Regions from separate parts of the Homo sapiens genome. Here region 2 is linked to region 1. Evidence: promoter capture Hi-C in 16 types of primary human blood cells and fetal thymus (Javierre and others, 2016). All regions are on one chromosome and are shown on one strand. The core of a region is centred on a gene start or on the middle of the fragment in contact, and the rest is flanking DNA. Distances in the headings are between cores, read along the strand shown. Region 1 holds the start of REC8 (REC8 meiotic recombination protein). Region 2 overlaps DHRS1 (dehydrogenase/reductase 1).

Region 1 (4,205 bases), core at 738-3,237:
ATAGTGGCACATGCCTGTAGTCCCAGCTACTCAGGAGGCTTAGGTAGGAGAATTGCTTGAACCCAGGAGGCGGAGGTTGCACTGAGCCAAGATGGTCCATTGCACTCCAGCCTGGGCGACAAGCAAAATTCCATCTCAGAAAAAAAAAAAAAAAAAAAAAAAAAAAACTCTCAAATTGAAGGGGACTGTAAGAAGATAGGGTCAGCTCAGCTGCAGTAAGATATAAGTCTCAGGAAGAAGCATGCTCTGGAGTCAAGGCAGAGAAGGACATTCTAGGCCAAAGAAATGGCTGTGCAAAGGTAGGAGGCATAGGGACAAGGGTTATTATTACAACTGTACCTCTTAAATTTACACAATAATTGTTGAGAATATGGCTTTTCCAGGCTAGGAAGTTGTGCTGCATCCAAAAATGCTAAAGTCTATTTCAGCCGGGAGAACACTGACAGCTGGGAAAGGACCACACGTGGCGTGCCCATAACCTAAGTTGTTCAGATTTAGGAAGTGACCCCAGTAAGTCCTTTCGGAGTTTCGTGTAAGATTGACTTCTTCAGCTGGGGGCAGTGGCTCACGCCTGTAATCCCAGCACTTTGGGAGGCCAAGGCGGGCGGATCACCTGAGGTCAGGAGTTCGAGACCAGCCTGGCCAACATGGTGAAACCCCTGTCTCTACTAAAAAATACAAAATTTAGCCAGGTGTGGTGGTGGGCGCCTGTAATCCCAGCTACTCGGGAGCCTGAGGCAGGAGAATCCCCTGCACCGGGGAGGCGGAGGCTGCAATGAGCTGAGACTGCGCCACTGCACTCCAGCCTGGGTGACAGAGTGAAACTCCATCTCAAAAAAAAAAGAAACCAGCCTGGCCAACATAGTGAAATCCCGTCTCTTCTAAAAATGCAAAAATTAGTTGGGTGTGATGGAGGGCGCCTGTAATCCCAGCTACTCAGGAGGCCAAGACACGAGAATCGCTTGAACCTGAGGGGATGGGGGGCAGAGGATGCAGTGAGCCGAGATTGCCGAGATAGCGCCACTGCATTCCAGCCTGGGCAACAGTGAGAGCCTCCATCTCAAAAAAAAAAAAAAAAAATGGACTTCTTCCTCATTGACCTGTGGTGGCTCCAAGGCCATCAAAAAAAAAAAAAATGGACTTCTTCCTCATTGACCTGTGGTGGCTCCAAGGCCATCATCTCACAGCCTTTTTTTTTTTTTTTTTTTTTGAGACGGAGTCTTGCTCCCTTGCCCAGGTTGGAGTGGAGCTGCATGATCTCGGCTCACTGCAACCTCCGCCTCCCAGGTTCAAGCATTCTCCTGCCTCAGCCTCCTGAGTAGCTGGGATTACAGGCGCGTGCCACCACGCCCAGCTAACTTTTGCATTTTTAATAGAGACGGGGTTTCACCATATTGGTCAGGCTGGACTCGAACTCCTAACCTCATGATCCGCCCGCCTCGGCCTCCCAAAGTGCTAGGATTACAGGCGTGAGCCACTGCGCCCGGCCTCATCTCACATCTTTCTTCCTCTGCAGCACACGACACGCCCTAGTTGGAAACAAAGTCGGAGTTTGTGGATTGGGGGAAGGGCGGGGTCTAACCTCAGGTCAGGCGCCGTGCAAGGTACATCTTGGCACCCGGAAGAGGCCCAGTACAGTTGCCCCCGAGGTGACCCGACCTCCCCTACCAATTGAGGCGCCCTTGTTGCCAGGCTTGCGGCGGGGGAGCGGCGGGGGAGCGACGGGGATGCGCTCATTGGTCAAGGAAGGGGCGCCTGTTACTAGAGGCGAGAACCGGAGCCCATTGGTCGGAACACCTCACAATGGACCCCAGCGGCGCGCAAAATCCTTATGATTGGTTTGCTGGCTGCCTCGGGAGACCCTGTTGCCAGGATACTTGGCGTTCCCGACCCGACCCCCGTTCCCCATTGGCTGTCAGGGCAAAAGCCGCCATCTAATGAGGAGCGAGGTGCGGTGCCCCGAAGCGCTCGCTTCCCGCGGTGCGATCTAGTCCTGCAGTAGGCGGCCCGGGGCCACACCGCGGCCGCCCAAGCCAGTGCAAGGCCCAGGGGCCTGACATCGCTCCCAGCGCTCGAGGACCGAGGCCTGCTGTGGAGGACACCGTGCTCCCTCGGGACCTGCTCTGGATTCCGGCCCGGACGTCCCCTTGGAGCTCTGCATCTCCAACCTGGAACCCAACCCAGAAGTCTCAAGTTTGACGCATCACGTGGCGTGCGGATCCACTGAGGGTCCACAGAGAGGGGCGCCCATCTCCTGCGTCTCAGTTATCCTGGTAATTGTGTATCTGCCCATTGTTCGTTGCCTCATTAACTTGGCTTTCTAGGTGCACCCACCTTGCCACCAGAGAAGTCCAAATCCTGACTTCTCTCCAAGGTGTTGGGAATTCTGTGCCCTAAAGAATTCCGACTCAGATCCGAACGGGGATCTGGTGGAATCGAGGGTGAAAGACCAGAGGGACAATGTTCTACTATCCCAACGTGCTTCAGCGCCACACCGGCTGCTTTGCCACCATCTGGTAAGGGCGGGGCCCGTTGGCGCGCGATGGCGGACGCTGCCCGGGATCCCAGCCTGACAGCTCCCCCTCCATCCCCATTCTCCCACCTTCCCCACCCACTTCAGGCTGGCGGCGACTCGCGGCAGCCGGTTGGTGAAGCGCGAATACCTGAGGGTGAATGTGGTGAAAACCTGGTAAGGCCCAGAAAAGGGAAGGAGGGCCTGGTGCGGGGGGTGAGTTAGGGGATGGGGTGGCCAAGACTGTGGGCCCACTCCTGGACGCAGCGGTAATCAGGGCGCATTGTTCCCCAGCGAGGAAATCCTCAATTACGTGCTGGTACGAGTGCAACCCCCGCAGCCCGGCCTGCCGCGGCCCCGCTTCTCCCTCTATCTCTCAGCCCAACTTCAGATCGGTGTGATCCGCGTCTATTCTCAACAATGCCAGTACCTCGTGGGTAAGGCTGGGAACCCTCAAAGGTGGGGCGGGCTGAGCAGCTGTCTGCTAAGCTGGCTGTCTACCTCGTCCTCCCTGCCCACAGAGGACATCCAGCACATCTTGGAGCGCCTCCACCGTGCCCAGCTGCAGATCCGAATAGATATGGAGACTGAGCTGTGAGTGTGCCCTGGGCCTTTGATGGAACACCTGCTAGCTTGGCCTCAGCCTGGCTCAGCCTCAGTCCTTCACGGCCTACATTCTCTCCCAGACCCAGCCTGCTGCTTCCTAACCACCTGGCCATGATGGAGACCCTAGAAGATGCTCCAGATCCCTTTTTTGGGATGATGTCTGTGGATCCCAGACTTCCTAGTCCTTTCGATATCCCTCAGGTAGGGCTCATTCCCCAAGACTCGTGAATTGGCAATGCAGAAGGGGAGTGCTGTCCCTGTGTCACTCTGACATTGGGGTTGGGGAAGGAAGCTTACCACAGCTCTCTCCCACAGGAGATGGTGCAGGGGGACTGCCAAGGTGGACCCATCCAGGCGAAGCCCCCTGTACTTACCTACTCAGGGCCAATCTGATCAGACGGTTTCCCCACTGGAGGCAGCTCTTGTCCCCACTTGTCTCCACACTGTTTTCACTGCCAAGGCCCTAATCCAGGCTCTCATCTCTCTGCACTGGGCTTTCTTACCCCTGTCCTCCTCCATCTATTCCCAATACTCCTACAGCTTAATGTCACCCCCTTCCTTGGTTCCCCATTTGAACAGTGGCTCCTGCTGCAAACAGATTACTAGCATTTGGGGCTCTCCATGCCCCATTTATTTCTTTTTTTATTTTATTACTATTATTATTATTATTTTTGAGACAGGATCTTGCTCTGTGGCCCAGGCTGGAGTGCAGTGGCACGATCTCAGCTTACTGCAACCTCTGCCTCCCCGGTTCAAGCAATTCTCCTGCCTCAGCCTCCCGAGTAGCTGGGACTACAGGCATTTGCCACCATGCCCAACTGATTTTGTATTTTTAGTTGAGACAGGGTTTCACCATGCTGGCCAGGCTGGTTTCGAACCCCTGACCTCATGATCTGCCTGTCTCCTCCTCCTGAAGTGCTGGGATTACAGACATGAGCCACAGAGCCCGGCCCAATTTTTTTAGGGTTTCGCCTTATCGGCCAGGCTGGTCTCGAACTCCAGACCTCAGGTGATCCACCCACCCTGGCTTTCCAAAGTGCTAGGATTACAGACGTGAGCCATCGCGCTGGCCTATTATTATTATTTT
Region 2 (4,264 bases), core at 968-3,467, 120 kb after region 1:
TGGAGGAAAGGGGTCTTGTCCTGGGGCAGAACCCCTTGAGAAGCTTCACATTTATACATCTTTGAGTCTTTCTCCCAAATTGTTAACATGTTGCTGAGCAGAGAATCAGCAGTCAAAAACACATTGAAAGAGAAATGAGACTTTTATTAGCTCCAAGAGCATTTTTCAATACTAAGGCAAAAAGTAAAAAGAAGGACAAGGAAAACCAAGGCACAAAGAAGGGACCTAGGCGCACCCCAGAACTCACCACGGACACACAGCAGAGGGCTTCTCTTCATATCAAGGGTATGGGTAAACAAGAAAGGCTGCTGTTTCACTGAGACAGGACGAACCACCAAGTCCAAATGAGAAGACAAGCAGAGACGTAGTGTCAGACCAGGAGGGTTAGAACTTGCTAGTGTAGAGGGCAATAATCCACTTGGGCACACGGAGGAAGGAGGGCAGGTAGGAGGCCAGCCAGCCCAGGCCGGACACGTGTGAGAGAACAGAGCTCAAAGACAAATAGTCTTGGACGGGGCGGCCTGGGAACAACAGGAGGAGGAGGATTAGATTCTCATTTCCCACTCCTCAGATACCCTCACCTTGGCTGGAGAGACCGAGGGAGGAGTGGGCAGGGAACAGAGGGAACAGCAGTCAAGGCTGACTGCTGTGCCAGGGTCCTCACCGTCCACATCCCGAAGGCCATAGCGTCGAGCAAGGTCACAGGATGGCAGCACCTTACCACTCAGGCTCAGGATATTGGGATCTGCGGGCACACAGACAGGTGGAGATGGCAGGCAGGGGAGTATGCAGAGTGACAAGGTTTGGGCCCAGTTGGACAGGGCACTGCTGAGAGCCCTGGAGCTCAGGATCCCTGGAGAGCTCTTTCTCTTGGGCCTTGGACTTTTTCCACACTTCCCAGGAGCCTGCTCCTAAGGCTCTCAGACCTCAAACTGGGAATGCTGACCCCTTGGGCCTCAAAAAGCAGAGAAAAGAATGACATGTTCCTCAACCAACTCCCGAGCCAGATCTGGGCACTGGATGCTACCGCACTACACATCCTCCATGCCCTTTCTTATTACCAGCTGCCCCCAAACTTCACCTGTTGCCAAAGCCACCACACATTTGCCACTCAATTCTGTGGTTTCCGCAGATGAGAAGGCTGATTTGAACTGAAACACAGGGGCAGAGAAGTGAAGGGTTAATTTCCAAGAGCACTGCCCAGGTCTCCTCCCCATTTCAACTTCTGTTCCAGGAGAAAAAGACCAAAGACCAAAGAGGCCAAAGACCTCAAGCAGGGCCTGTAGGACCCAAAGTATTGGCAGGTGCCAGAGCCACTCCTCCCCACATCCAGGTGAGCCCTGTGCCCTGGCACCAGGATCTGCTGTCTTTGCTAAGTGGAAGGATCTGGTAGTGCCAAATAGTGTTTGGACCTTCTAAGCTAGCTGGTGTGGGGGTCAAGTGCATGGTCTTTGGAGCTAGACAGCCTTTCCACTTAGGACATATGTGACCTTCAACAAGTTTCTAAACCTCTCTGGGTTTCAGTTTTGCCATCTGTAGAATGGAGCTGGTATCTCCCTTACAGGATTAAAGGAAATAATGTGTGTCCCATGCTCAGCCCTGCACCTGCCACAGTAAGCACCTGGTGAGTGGGAGTATCTGATCTTGTTATTGAGGATGCAGAGGCCGACTCCCCTGTTCTCTGCTTCCTTCGCCCTCCCCTTGCCAACCTGCTTCAACACAGGATCCTGCAGGACCTCCTCCTTTGCCATATGCTCCTTCAGCAGTTCTGTCTGCACAATCCCCGGCCACAGAGACACACAGCTGACCCCATGGCGCCGCAGCTCGTGGGCACAGTCAGCAGCCAGCTTGTCACACTGTGGAGAGGCGGAAGGCAGGGTAAGAGCCACCTAGCCATGTCACTTTCCTGCCCTGCCCTCTCTGCTTCTACTGTGAATGCTCCACCCACCCTGTCCTTCCCAGGAGCCCCAAGGTCTCAGCTGCCCACGCTCCCCAGTGTGATGCCTACTCTAGCCAACCAAGAGGAGCACAAGCAAAGGAACTGTCCATGGATGAGGCAGAGGAGGAGCTGAGAGGAGCCAGCCTTACCATTCTGACCACTGGGGATTGTACCTCCTGAGCTATAGGTAACATCACTGTCTTTTACCTCCTCAGCTCCTATGCCACTGGGTCCTCACCGCAGCTTTGCCCACACCATAGGGGACATTGAACATATACTGCAGGCTTCCTGGGGAGGAGATGACCACGATGAGCCCCTGGCCAGCTGGTACCATCAGCCGTGCCCCATACACTGAGCAAAAGTAGTGGCCTCTAGAAGGTGGGGCAAGGGAAGAAGGAATGAACCGTGTTAGTGCTGGCCTGGGTGCCACAGCCTCTGGCGGCTTCCCCTGCCTTCTGGTGGTTGTTGTCCACTAGGAAGGCTACACAGGGTGGGTTAGCGACCTGAGGAATTAGGGGCTTGAGGCCATATTCTGAGAGGAAAACTGGTCAAAATAACCACTGACAGATGAGAAACAGCAATCTTTGGAAGAAGAAATGGAACGCAAGAGCCCTGTCACAATAACAATTACAAACAAAATTGTTCAGGGGGAGAAAACTTAAGAAATGTATAGTGTCTACATAGAAAAACTATAAAACCATGACAATAAGTACAGACAAAATCTTTCAAAGCTAAGAACTGACATGTAAATCATCATTTCTATGTAAATCAATCCATAGATTCAGTCAAATTGGATTATAGCTCAATAAGACCTTTTGGAGGAATTGATAAAATAATCTAAAGCTCAATGAGAAGAATAAACGTGAGAACAGCCAGAAAAGCTGGGCACGGTGGCTCACGCCTGCAATCCCAGCACTTTGGGAGGCGAGGGGGGCAGATCACTTGAGCTCAGGAGTTTGAGACCAGCCTGGCCAACGTGGTGAAAGCCCATCTGTACTAAAAATACAAAAATTAGCCAGGTGTGGTGGTACGTGCCTATAGTCCCAGCTACTCGGGAGCCTGAGGCAGGAGGATCTCTTGAGCCCAGGAGGCGGAGGTTGCAGTAAGCTGAGATTGTGCCACTGCACTCTAGCCTGGCTGACAGAGTGAGATTGTCTCAAAAATAAATAAATAAATAAAAAGAAAGAGAACAGCCAGGAAAATTCCGAAAAAAGGACTAAAAAGACTAATGTCTTGTGGGTGAGGGGGATTGCTTTCCCTACCCCTGCTGTCACCCATATTAAAATGCACAGGGGCCAGGCATGGTGGCTTATGCCTGTAATCCCAGCATTTTGGGAGGCTGAGATGGGAGAATTGCTTGAGGTCAGGAGTTTGAGACCAGCCTGGCCAACACAGCAAGACCCCGTCTCTAAAAAATAAAATAAAATAAATTAAAATGTACAAGACATAATAGTTAAAAGAATGCAATACAGGTGTTAACAGTAGACTGATAAGTCAATGAAACAAAACAGAGAATAATTAGATACAAGTGTATGTGAGAACGCAATGTATTACGAAAGGAACCTGTCAAATCAGTGGGGGAAAGTTGGATCATTTGGGACAACCGACCAGTTATTTGAGTTAGGGGAATTGGGTCTCTGCCTCGTTTATTATTTTAAAATTAAGCCTAAAAGGATCAAATATTTAAATATAAAAAACGAAAGCACAGAAGTACTGAAAGAAAACATGATCAAATGTGTTTATAAACTTGAGGGAAAAGGCTTTTATTAGCGTCACACCAAGACAGAAACTATAAAAGACTGACAGATTTGACGTAAAATTAAGATACACACACATACACACACAAATACAAAGATACATGTATATTTCTGTGTATATAAAGAGCAGGGCGAGGCTGAGTATGGTGGCTCATGCCTATAATCCCAACACTTTGGGAGGCTGAGGTGGGTAGATCACTTGAGATCAGGAGTTCGAGACCAGCCCAGCCAACACGGTGAAACCCCGTTCTCTACTAAAAATACAAAAATTAGCCAGGCGTGGTGGCAGGTGCCTGTAATCCCAGCTACTCGGGAGGTTGAGGTATGAGAATCGCTTGAACCCAGGAGGCAGAGGTTGCAGTGAGCTGAGATTGCACACTGCACTCTAGCCTGGGTGACAGAGCGAGATTCCACCTCAAAACAACAACAACAACAACAACAACAACAACAACAACAGACGAGTGGGGGGAGTATGCGTGTGAAAAATGAGTGATAAATTGGGAAAAATATTTGTAAAATAAATGCCAAAGTCATTTGTTTCACAGTGATCTCTTATAAATTAATGCGA

What was found. Contacts are between HindIII fragments. The CHiCAGO score rates a contact against its expected background, and 5 or more counts as called.
Region 2: a fragment that was not itself captured here is called in contact with the fragment with the promoter of REC8 in region 1 in 16 of 17 cell types (activated CD4 T cells, neutrophils, monocytes and 13 more); the score reaches 16.7 in activated CD4 T cells.

Annotation. Positions count from the first base shown.
Region 1 is chr14:24,170,093-24,174,297 of GRCh38, forward strand. REC8 (REC8 meiotic recombination protein) reads left to right here and starts at 1,988. Exons shown (of 19, transcript NM_001048205.2): 1 at 1,988-2,516; 2 at 2,621-2,689; 3 at 2,807-2,949; 4 at 3,034-3,106; 5 at 3,199-3,319. The coding sequence starts at 2,461. RefSeq lists enhancers at 1,400-1,900, 1,969-2,218 and a silencer at 1,749-1,798. The HindIII fragment of the contact is 5,740 bases long and covers 1-3,408 here.
Region 2 is chr14:24,290,475-24,294,738 of GRCh38, forward strand. DHRS1 (dehydrogenase/reductase 1) reads right to left here. Exons shown (of 9, transcript NM_001136050.3): 5 at 2,178-2,310; 6 at 1,710-1,856; 7 at 1,082-1,151; 8 at 665-745; 9 at 124-521. The coding sequence ends at 385. It also overlaps a transcript of NOP9 not described here. Among named protein-coding and RNA genes, the nearest start is that of DHRS1, 7.2 kb to the right of the region's middle. The HindIII fragment of the contact is 4,352 bases long and covers 42-4,264 here.